Linked DNA regions of Homo sapiens: all the other regions are linked to region 1. Evidence: promoter capture Hi-C in human tissues and cell types (Jung and others, 2019). All regions are on one chromosome and are shown on one strand. The core of a region is centred on a gene start or on the middle of the fragment in contact, and the rest is flanking DNA. Distances in the headings are between cores, read along the strand shown. Region 1 holds the start of HSD17B10 (hydroxysteroid 17-beta dehydrogenase 10). Region 2 has its middle 36 kb from the start of HSD17B10. Region 3 overlaps SMC1A (structural maintenance of chromosomes 1A).

Region 1 (2,525 bases), core at 8-2,507:
ACCCCATCTCTTCTAAAAATACAAAAAAAAAAATTAGCTGGGCGTGGTGGCAGGTGCCTGTAATCCCAGCTACTTGGGAGGTTGAGGCAGGAAAATCGCTTGAACCCAGAAGATGGAGGTTGCAAGGAGCTGAGATTGTGCCACTGCACTCCAGCCTGGGCAACAGAGCGAGACTCCATCTCAAAAATAAAAATAAAAAATAACCCTCTTGTGAGAATTATTGATAGGAAGATAAACTAGCTTTTTTGTATCCTTACCTGCTAAGATGATTTCATCAAGTTTCACTTTCTGTAGTTTGTTTCATGAAAACAAGTTTTTTGACTTTGTAAATATAAAATTACAAGGCACAAAATGCATTTTCAAACCATACATAACTCCTCCAGGAGATTGTTACGTCCAATCCCCATCCTCATTGTTGTGAATCCCAGCTTTAGAGAATCCTTATCACAGGTGGTCCCACAGTGCTTGAAGGCTCAGGCCAAAAGAGACAAGGAGATGGGTCTACCGCCCCCATAGAGGAGACCCTTATGGGAGGGACCCCCACAGGTTCCCAGGCCGGTGTTGGTGACCTCATGCACACCCTGGGAGAGGAGAGGTGACCCCACTTACGTCGGCTGGGGCGAAAACGCAGTTGTTTCCTAACTTCTTGGCTTGGGCCTCCCCACCCGAGTTGGGCAGGTCCAGAAGCACAGCAGAGGCTCCCTGCCCCACAAGTCGCTCCGCCGTGGCCAGGCCCAGGCCCGAGGCTCCTCCGGTTATTACCGCCACCAGGCCCTGTCAAAAGGGACATGGTCAGGGTCAGCTGTTACATTGCCCAGACCATCCCCACGCTGTCGCCTGCCTGTTCTCCAGGCTTCTGAGGAGAAGGGGGGAGGGGAGAGGTCGTGGTCACCCCTGCGGGTAAACTAGGTGTGCTGCTTCTCCTCAGCGTTGGGACCTCGGGGGCAGAAGGGATCTCATCCCCAGACAGCCCGTCCCGTGACGATAGATAGATAGATGATTGATAGATAGATAGATAGACAGACAGACAGACAGACAGATGCGCCGCGGAGTGCTGACTTTCACCTCTTGAGCCCAACGGCCACAATACCAGGCCTACATAAGCATGACCCTTTCCCTCGAAACCGATCTCTTTCTCCTAGTTCCACGGCCGCGCTGTCCCGGCCCGTAAAGGAAGGCAAGCAACAGAGGCAAAGAACCTTCTACCTTCACGCTCCGACACGCTGCTGCCATCTTGTCGCCGGCCACTCCACGGGATGGGGATGGGGGCGCGGGCGCTCGTTGATTGGCCGAGGCGAAGCGGCGGAAGGGGCGGATGCGACGGGCCGGGGCGTCTGCCGCTGCCGCATGAGACGTGGGGGCGTGGCCTGGTACGCTAGTCCTTTGGCCAGAGGGCGGATTCCGCCTGCTAAGGTATCCCCAGAGTTATTTCAACTGGGGAAAGAGACCAATAGCAGAAGTACAATACCACAACACCCCTCGCCCTACTCTCTAGCTGGCCTTTTGGCAAGTGGCCTGCTCCGCGTGGGGGAAGAGGGGTGGATATTGAGAACGGATGCCTTTCTCCTCTGAAAAAGTCTTAATTCAAGTATGAATGTATTTGAGACTCCTATATGCTAGACGGTGTGCGGGGCACCTGGGATACCCAGCGGAATAATAAAAGATTCATGCCTTCCAGGAGGGCACAGTCCAGGTGGAGAAAGAGAATTACAGTACAGACACAGACGAATGGACGGAACCAGATTCTGGGACACTCAGACAAGGAGATCCAAAGATGAGGAGTCTGAGTTAGAGAGAGAGAGAGCCATGTAAAGAGAAATATGTTGAGGCCGAGATAGGAAGAGAGATGCCAGGTAGGATCACAGAGAGATGAATGTGGAAAGCCGCTAAGAGAGATGCTTGGAGACAGACATTCTAGGACAGCTGCTGAGAAGCACAAACCTAAAGAGGCAAAAACATCTTTCATCAGTTCAGGCTTTGCTACTCTCCTCTATCTTTGTCTAATTTAAGTCCAAAAGCCCAGATCACACACTGCAGATTGGACTTCAACCAGAGACTATTATTTAAGACCCAGGTCTTTGTCATCCTAGAACATCTTTCAGGCAGCTTCCAGAAGCTATGTCATTAGAGTCTTGAGCCCAGATATCTAATCTGTCTTCCTTCTATACTTTTCCTCAAACCAAGGTCTTCAGGCCATAAATCTTAGCCCACCATTTCAGCCTCAGAACTGCTTTATGTTTTCTCTATCTGAAATATCTCCCCCCACTTGCTTTCTCACCCAGGAAGATTCCCCTCCAGGCCTTCTAGTTGTTGACAGCCACCACACTCATAATCACTACACCGTATTTACCAAAGGATTTAGCACACCGGTCTCACAATTTTCCTATCTACATGAAGTGCTTCCATCAATTTATAGCACTCTTCATCCGGCCCAATATGCTGTAGCCACAGTGGCCTCCTTTGTGTTCATCTTTGCATTAGCTGCTCCCTCTGCTTGGAATGCTCTCCCCTGATCTTTGCATGAC
Region 2 (2,525 bases), core at 19-2,518, 36 kb after region 1:
CGATTCTCCTACCTCAGCCTCCTGAGTAGCTGGAACTACAAGTGTGCGCTACCATGCCTGGCTAATTTTTGTAGTTTTAGTAGAGACAGGGTTTTGCTATGTTGACTAGGCTGGTCTCAAACTCCTGGCCTCAAGCAATCTGCCCACCTTGGCCTCCCAAAGTGCTGGGATTACAAGCGTGAGCCACCGCACTGGGCCAGGTTTCACCACTGTTAACTAATATCTGGCTTTATTGATCTTTGGCATCATGTAGCATACACCTTATTCCTTTTCATGGCTGAATAATATTCCATTGTATGTATATACAAGTTGAGCATCCCTTATCTGAAAATTCAAAATCCAAAATGTTTTCAGATCCGAAATGATGCCACAGTGGAAAATTCCACAAATAAGTACTTAACACAAACTTTGTTTCATGCACAGAATTATTTAAAATATTGTATAAAATTGGCCAGGCGCGATGGCTCATGCCTGTCATCCAGCACTGTATTTTTTTTTTTTTTTTTGAGACAGATTCTTGCTGTCACCCAGGCTGGAGTGCCTGATCTCGGCTCATGGCAACCTCTGCCTCCCAGGTTCAAGCAATTCTCCTGCCTCAGCCTCCCAAGTAGCTGGGATCACAGGCATGCACCACCACATCCAGCAAATTTTTGTATTTTTAGTAGAGACAGGGCTTCACCATGTTGGCCAGACTGGTCTTGAACTCCTGACCTCAGGTGATCCACCTGCCTCAGCCTCCCAAAGTGCTGGGATTACAGGCATGAGCCACTGCACCTGGCCCAGCACTTTGGGAGGCGAAGGTGAGTGGATCACTTGAGCTCAGGAGGTGAAGACCAGCCTGGGCAACATGGCAAAACCCTGTCTCTATAAAAAATACAAAAATTAGCTGAATGTGGTGGTGCATGCCTGTTGTCCCAGCTACTCGGGAGGCTGAGGTGGGAGGATTGCTTGAGCCTGTGAAGTTGAGGCTGCAGTGAGCTGAGAACACGTTACTGCACACCAGCCTGGGTGACAGAGCAAGACCATATCTCAAAAAAGAAATACATACATACACACACACACATACATATATATTGTATAAAATTACCTTCAGGCTATGTGTATAAGGTGAATGTAAAACATAAATGAATTTCATATTTAGACTTGGGTTCCACCCCAAGATATCTCATTATGTATGTATAAATATTCCCAAATCAAAAAAAATCCAAAATGTAAAACACTTCTGGTCCCAAGCATTTTGGATAAGGGATACTCAAACTGTACCACAATTTGTTTAGCCATTCATCTGTTGATGGACATTTGGACTGGTTCCACCTTTTGGCTGTTGTGAATGCCGCTGCTATGAACATGTGTTAGATGTGCTTGAGTATCAGTTTTCAGTTCTTTTGGGTATATATTTAGGAGTGGAATTGCTAGATCATATTGGAACGAGACCAACACTTCTCCTGTTGTCCTTCCCAGCTTCTCCCCCACCTTCCCTTTTCCCTAGTTTATAAGACATGAGAAAAGGGAGAAAGCAAAAAGTTGGAAAGAAACAGAAGTAAGATAAATAGCTAGACGACCTTGGCGCCACCACCTGGCCCTGGTGGTTAAAATAATAATAATAATATTAACCCCTGACCAAAATTACTGGTGTTATCTGTAAATTCCAGACATTGTATGAGAAAGCACTGTAAAACTTTTTGTTCTGTTAGCTGATGTATGTAGCCCCCAGTCACGTTCCTCACGCTTACTTGATCTATCATGACCCTTTTACGTGGACCCCTTAGAGTTGTAAGCCCTTAAAAGGGCTATGAATTTCTTTTTCGGGGAGCTCGGCTCTTAAGACGCGAGTCTGCCGACGCTCCCAGACGAATAAAAACCTCTTCCTTCTTTAATCCGGTGTCTGAGGAGTTTTGTATGCGGCTCATCCTGCTACAAGATGATGATTCTCTTTATCTTTTTTTTTTGAGACGGAGTCTCGCTCTGTCGCCCAGGCTGGAGTGCAGTGGTGCGATCTCGGCTCACTGCAACCTCCGCCTCCTGGGTTCAAGCGATTCTCTTGCCTCAGCCTCCCGAGTAGCTGGGACTACAGGCACATGTCACCACGCCCGGCTAGTTTTTTGTATTTTTAGTAGAGACGGGATTTCACCATGTTAGCCAGGATGGTCTTGATCTCCTGACTTCGTGATCCGCCCGCCTCGGCCTCCCAAAGTGCTGGAATTACAGGTGTGAGCCACTGCGCCCGGCCTCTATGGTTACCTTTTAGAGGAACTGCCCAACTGTTTCCACAGTGGCTGAACCATTTTGTATTCCCACCAGCAATGTATGAGGGTCCCAGTTTCTCCACATCCTTGCCAACACTTATTTTCTGTTTTGCTGATTATAGCCATCCAAGTGGTGATGAAGTGGTATTTCACTGTGGTTTTGATTTGCATTGCCCTACTGACTAGTGATGTTGAGCATCTTTTCATGTGCTTCTTAGCCATTTGTATATCTTCTTTGGAGATATATCCATTCAAGTCCTCTGCTCATTAAAAAAATCT
Region 3 (2,525 bases), core at 13-2,512, 40 kb before region 1:
GGACCTTACTGGAATATTGATCTAAACACATAAACTGCAAAAAAAATAAAAATAAAAAAATATTATGGGACTTTCATGGAAATCTAAACATTTACTGATTAGATGATATTGTGGAGTTATTGTTAAATATTTTCAGATATAATATTATGGTTGTTTTTCTTAAAAGTTCTCATATTCTAGAGATACATGCTGAGGTAATTATGGATGGAGTAATGTCTAGTTTTCTTTAAAATACTCCAATGGGGGGTATAAAAAATAAGATTGCTTAACTGTTGAAGCTGAGTGCCTGAGGTTCATTATTATCATTCTCTTTACTTCCATATGCTTGAAATTTTCCATAAGTTAAAAAAATCAAATCCTCCTGAATATAATGATGATTGAAACACATCATAAACTATTTAGGAGGCTCCTGTAGTTGGCTATGTGAGATGAAAGTGGCCTGCATTAGACAGTGGAAACAAAAACCAGAATTCAATAGATATTTAGGGCCGGGCACAGTGGCTCACACCTGTAATCTCAGCACTTTGGGAGGCCAAGGTAGGCAGATCACCTGAGGTCAGGAGTTCAAGACCAGCCTGACCAACATGGTAGAACCCCGCCTCTACTAAAAATTAGCTGGGCATGATGGCGGGCACCTGTAATCTCAGCTACTTGGGAGGCTGAGGCAGGAGAATCGCTTGAACCTGGGAGGCAGAGGTTGCAGCAGTGAGTCGAGATCATGCCACTGCACTCCAGCCTGGGCAACAAGAGTGAAACTCCGTCTCAAAAAAAAAAAAAAAAAAAAAAGATATTTAGGAGGCAGAATCCATAGGGCTTGGTGCTTGGTAATTAATTGATTATGTAAAGTGAAAGAGGGAGAAGTCAAGGATGAGGCTCAAATTTCTGGCTGAGCATGTGAGTGGCACTGAGGAGATGGGTAAATATGGGGAGGAAGGCTAGGGCTTGAGGTACCTGTGGGACCTAGCATAGAGATTGCAGCGGAAGCCACGGAAGTAAAGTGATATCCAGGATGAAAGAATGCCAAGTGAGGAGGAAAGAGCCCTGAGGAACACCTGAGGTCAATCTGTTCACTGTACTGAAGTCTCTTCTCTGTGTGGACCTAGGCTTAGCTTAGTTATATACACACATGGAAGGGGAAGACTGATAGCAGGCAAGGGCAGGGGCAACTTGGGGTATGGGGTAGGGAATGTGCATATGTCTGTTTGAATATATGAGGTGGAGATCCTGCCTCACAACTGAATCCTCCCACCCTTGCCAGCTTTCCCCTCTTTCCAGCCATGGTCTTCACAGAGCCCCCAGATGGGCTGACCTCCTCTCTGGACAACTAGGAAGATAGTCCCACTCCCACCCAACCCCCACCCCCACCACACCCCTGTGGTTGATCCTCACCTTCAGATCCTCACACAGATCACCGTAGTCAATCTCAATGAGGGCCTCTCGTGCATAGATACTGGAAATTCTCTGTGAACCACTCACTGAGTCCTCCCCCTGGGAGCTACCCTGCAATGGCAACGGAGAGTCAAGTGGAGCAGACTGGCCATGAGAGTGCACCTCTATAGGGAGCTCCTTTGCAGCCTTCAATCTTTGAGAAAGCACCTTGCTAGAAAGCACCATGGCAGAAGGAACAGAGGCTTTGCAGGCAGAATGACTCAAGTTCAAAATTGAGCTCTATGGCCAGGTGCAGTGGCTTGCGCCTATAATCCCAGCACTTTGGGAGGCCAAGGCAGGTGAATCACTTCAGGTCAGGAGTTTGAGACCAGCCTGGCCAACATAATGAAACTCTGTCTCTACTAAAAACACAAAAATTAGCCAGGAGTGGTGGTGCATGCCTGTAATCCCAGCTACATGGGAGACTGAGGCACAAGAATCACTTGAAACTGGGAGGCGGAGGCTGCAGTGAGCCAAGATCACGCCACTGCACTTCAGCCTGGGTGACAAAACAAGACTCTGTCTCAAAAAATAAAAATAAAAATAAATAAAAAAAATTTGAGGTCTACACTTACTAACATTGTGATTTTGGGCAAGTCACATTCTCAGATCCTGAGTCTCTTCACCTGTAATGTGGGGATAATGCCTGTCTGGCAGGTCTGTGGTTAGGATTGGGGTAATTATGTCACATGCTACCATGATGCCCAGAACATTTCTGGTATTCAAAATATTTTACTGAATTAAACTGAAATGCCATTTGGAAAGTGAGGAGGGAGAAAGATACATGGGACTGAGATATATAACCAGGTCTAAGACAAGATATTAATATATGCAAACCTCCTCTCAGTTAACATTTCCCATCCCCTTGCTACAAATCTTTGCTTCCACTGCTCCTCTTTGGCTAGTATCTCTGGTTTTCCTATAACTAAACTTCCTCACCTCTGCATTGCTGATGTCCCTTACCTAACCCTCTCCTGGCCAATCTTCCTCACTGCAGCTAAGCTATCACCCTCAGGTCCCCTAGCTTTCTGTCTTCCTTTGCTCTTGGCTAATGTCCCTCAATTCCCACTCCTACCAATTTCTGTCACCTGCTGGAG

The links. The method cuts DNA at HindIII sites, captures the fragments that hold promoters and counts their contacts. A contact is called where the count stands out against the background at its distance.
Region 2: a contact is called between a fragment that was not itself captured here and the fragment with the promoter of HSD17B10 in region 1, in 1 of the 25 tissues and cell types used here (adrenal gland).
Region 3: a fragment that was not itself captured here is called in contact with the fragment with the promoter of HSD17B10 in region 1 in 2 of the 25 tissues and cell types used here (adrenal gland and lymphoblastoid cells).

The regions. Positions count from the first base shown.
Region 1 is chrX:53,433,113-53,435,637 of GRCh38, forward strand. HSD17B10 (hydroxysteroid 17-beta dehydrogenase 10) reads right to left here and starts at 1,258. Exons shown (of 6, transcript NM_004493.3): 1 at 1,207-1,258; 2 at 610-774. The coding sequence starts at 1,233. The HindIII fragment of the contact is 21,717 bases long and covers 1-2,525 here.
Region 2 is chrX:53,468,610-53,471,134 of GRCh38, forward strand. No RefSeq gene overlaps it. Among named protein-coding and RNA genes, the nearest start is that of HSD17B10, 36 kb to the left of the region's middle. The HindIII fragment of the contact is 9,397 bases long and covers 1-2,525 here.
Region 3 is chrX:53,393,389-53,395,913 of GRCh38, forward strand. It overlaps SMC1A (structural maintenance of chromosomes 1A), which reads right to left. Exons shown (of 25, transcript NM_006306.4): 19 at 1,390-1,500. Among named protein-coding and RNA genes, the nearest start is that of MIR6857, 11 kb to the right of the region's middle. The HindIII fragment of the contact is 5,879 bases long and covers 1-2,525 here.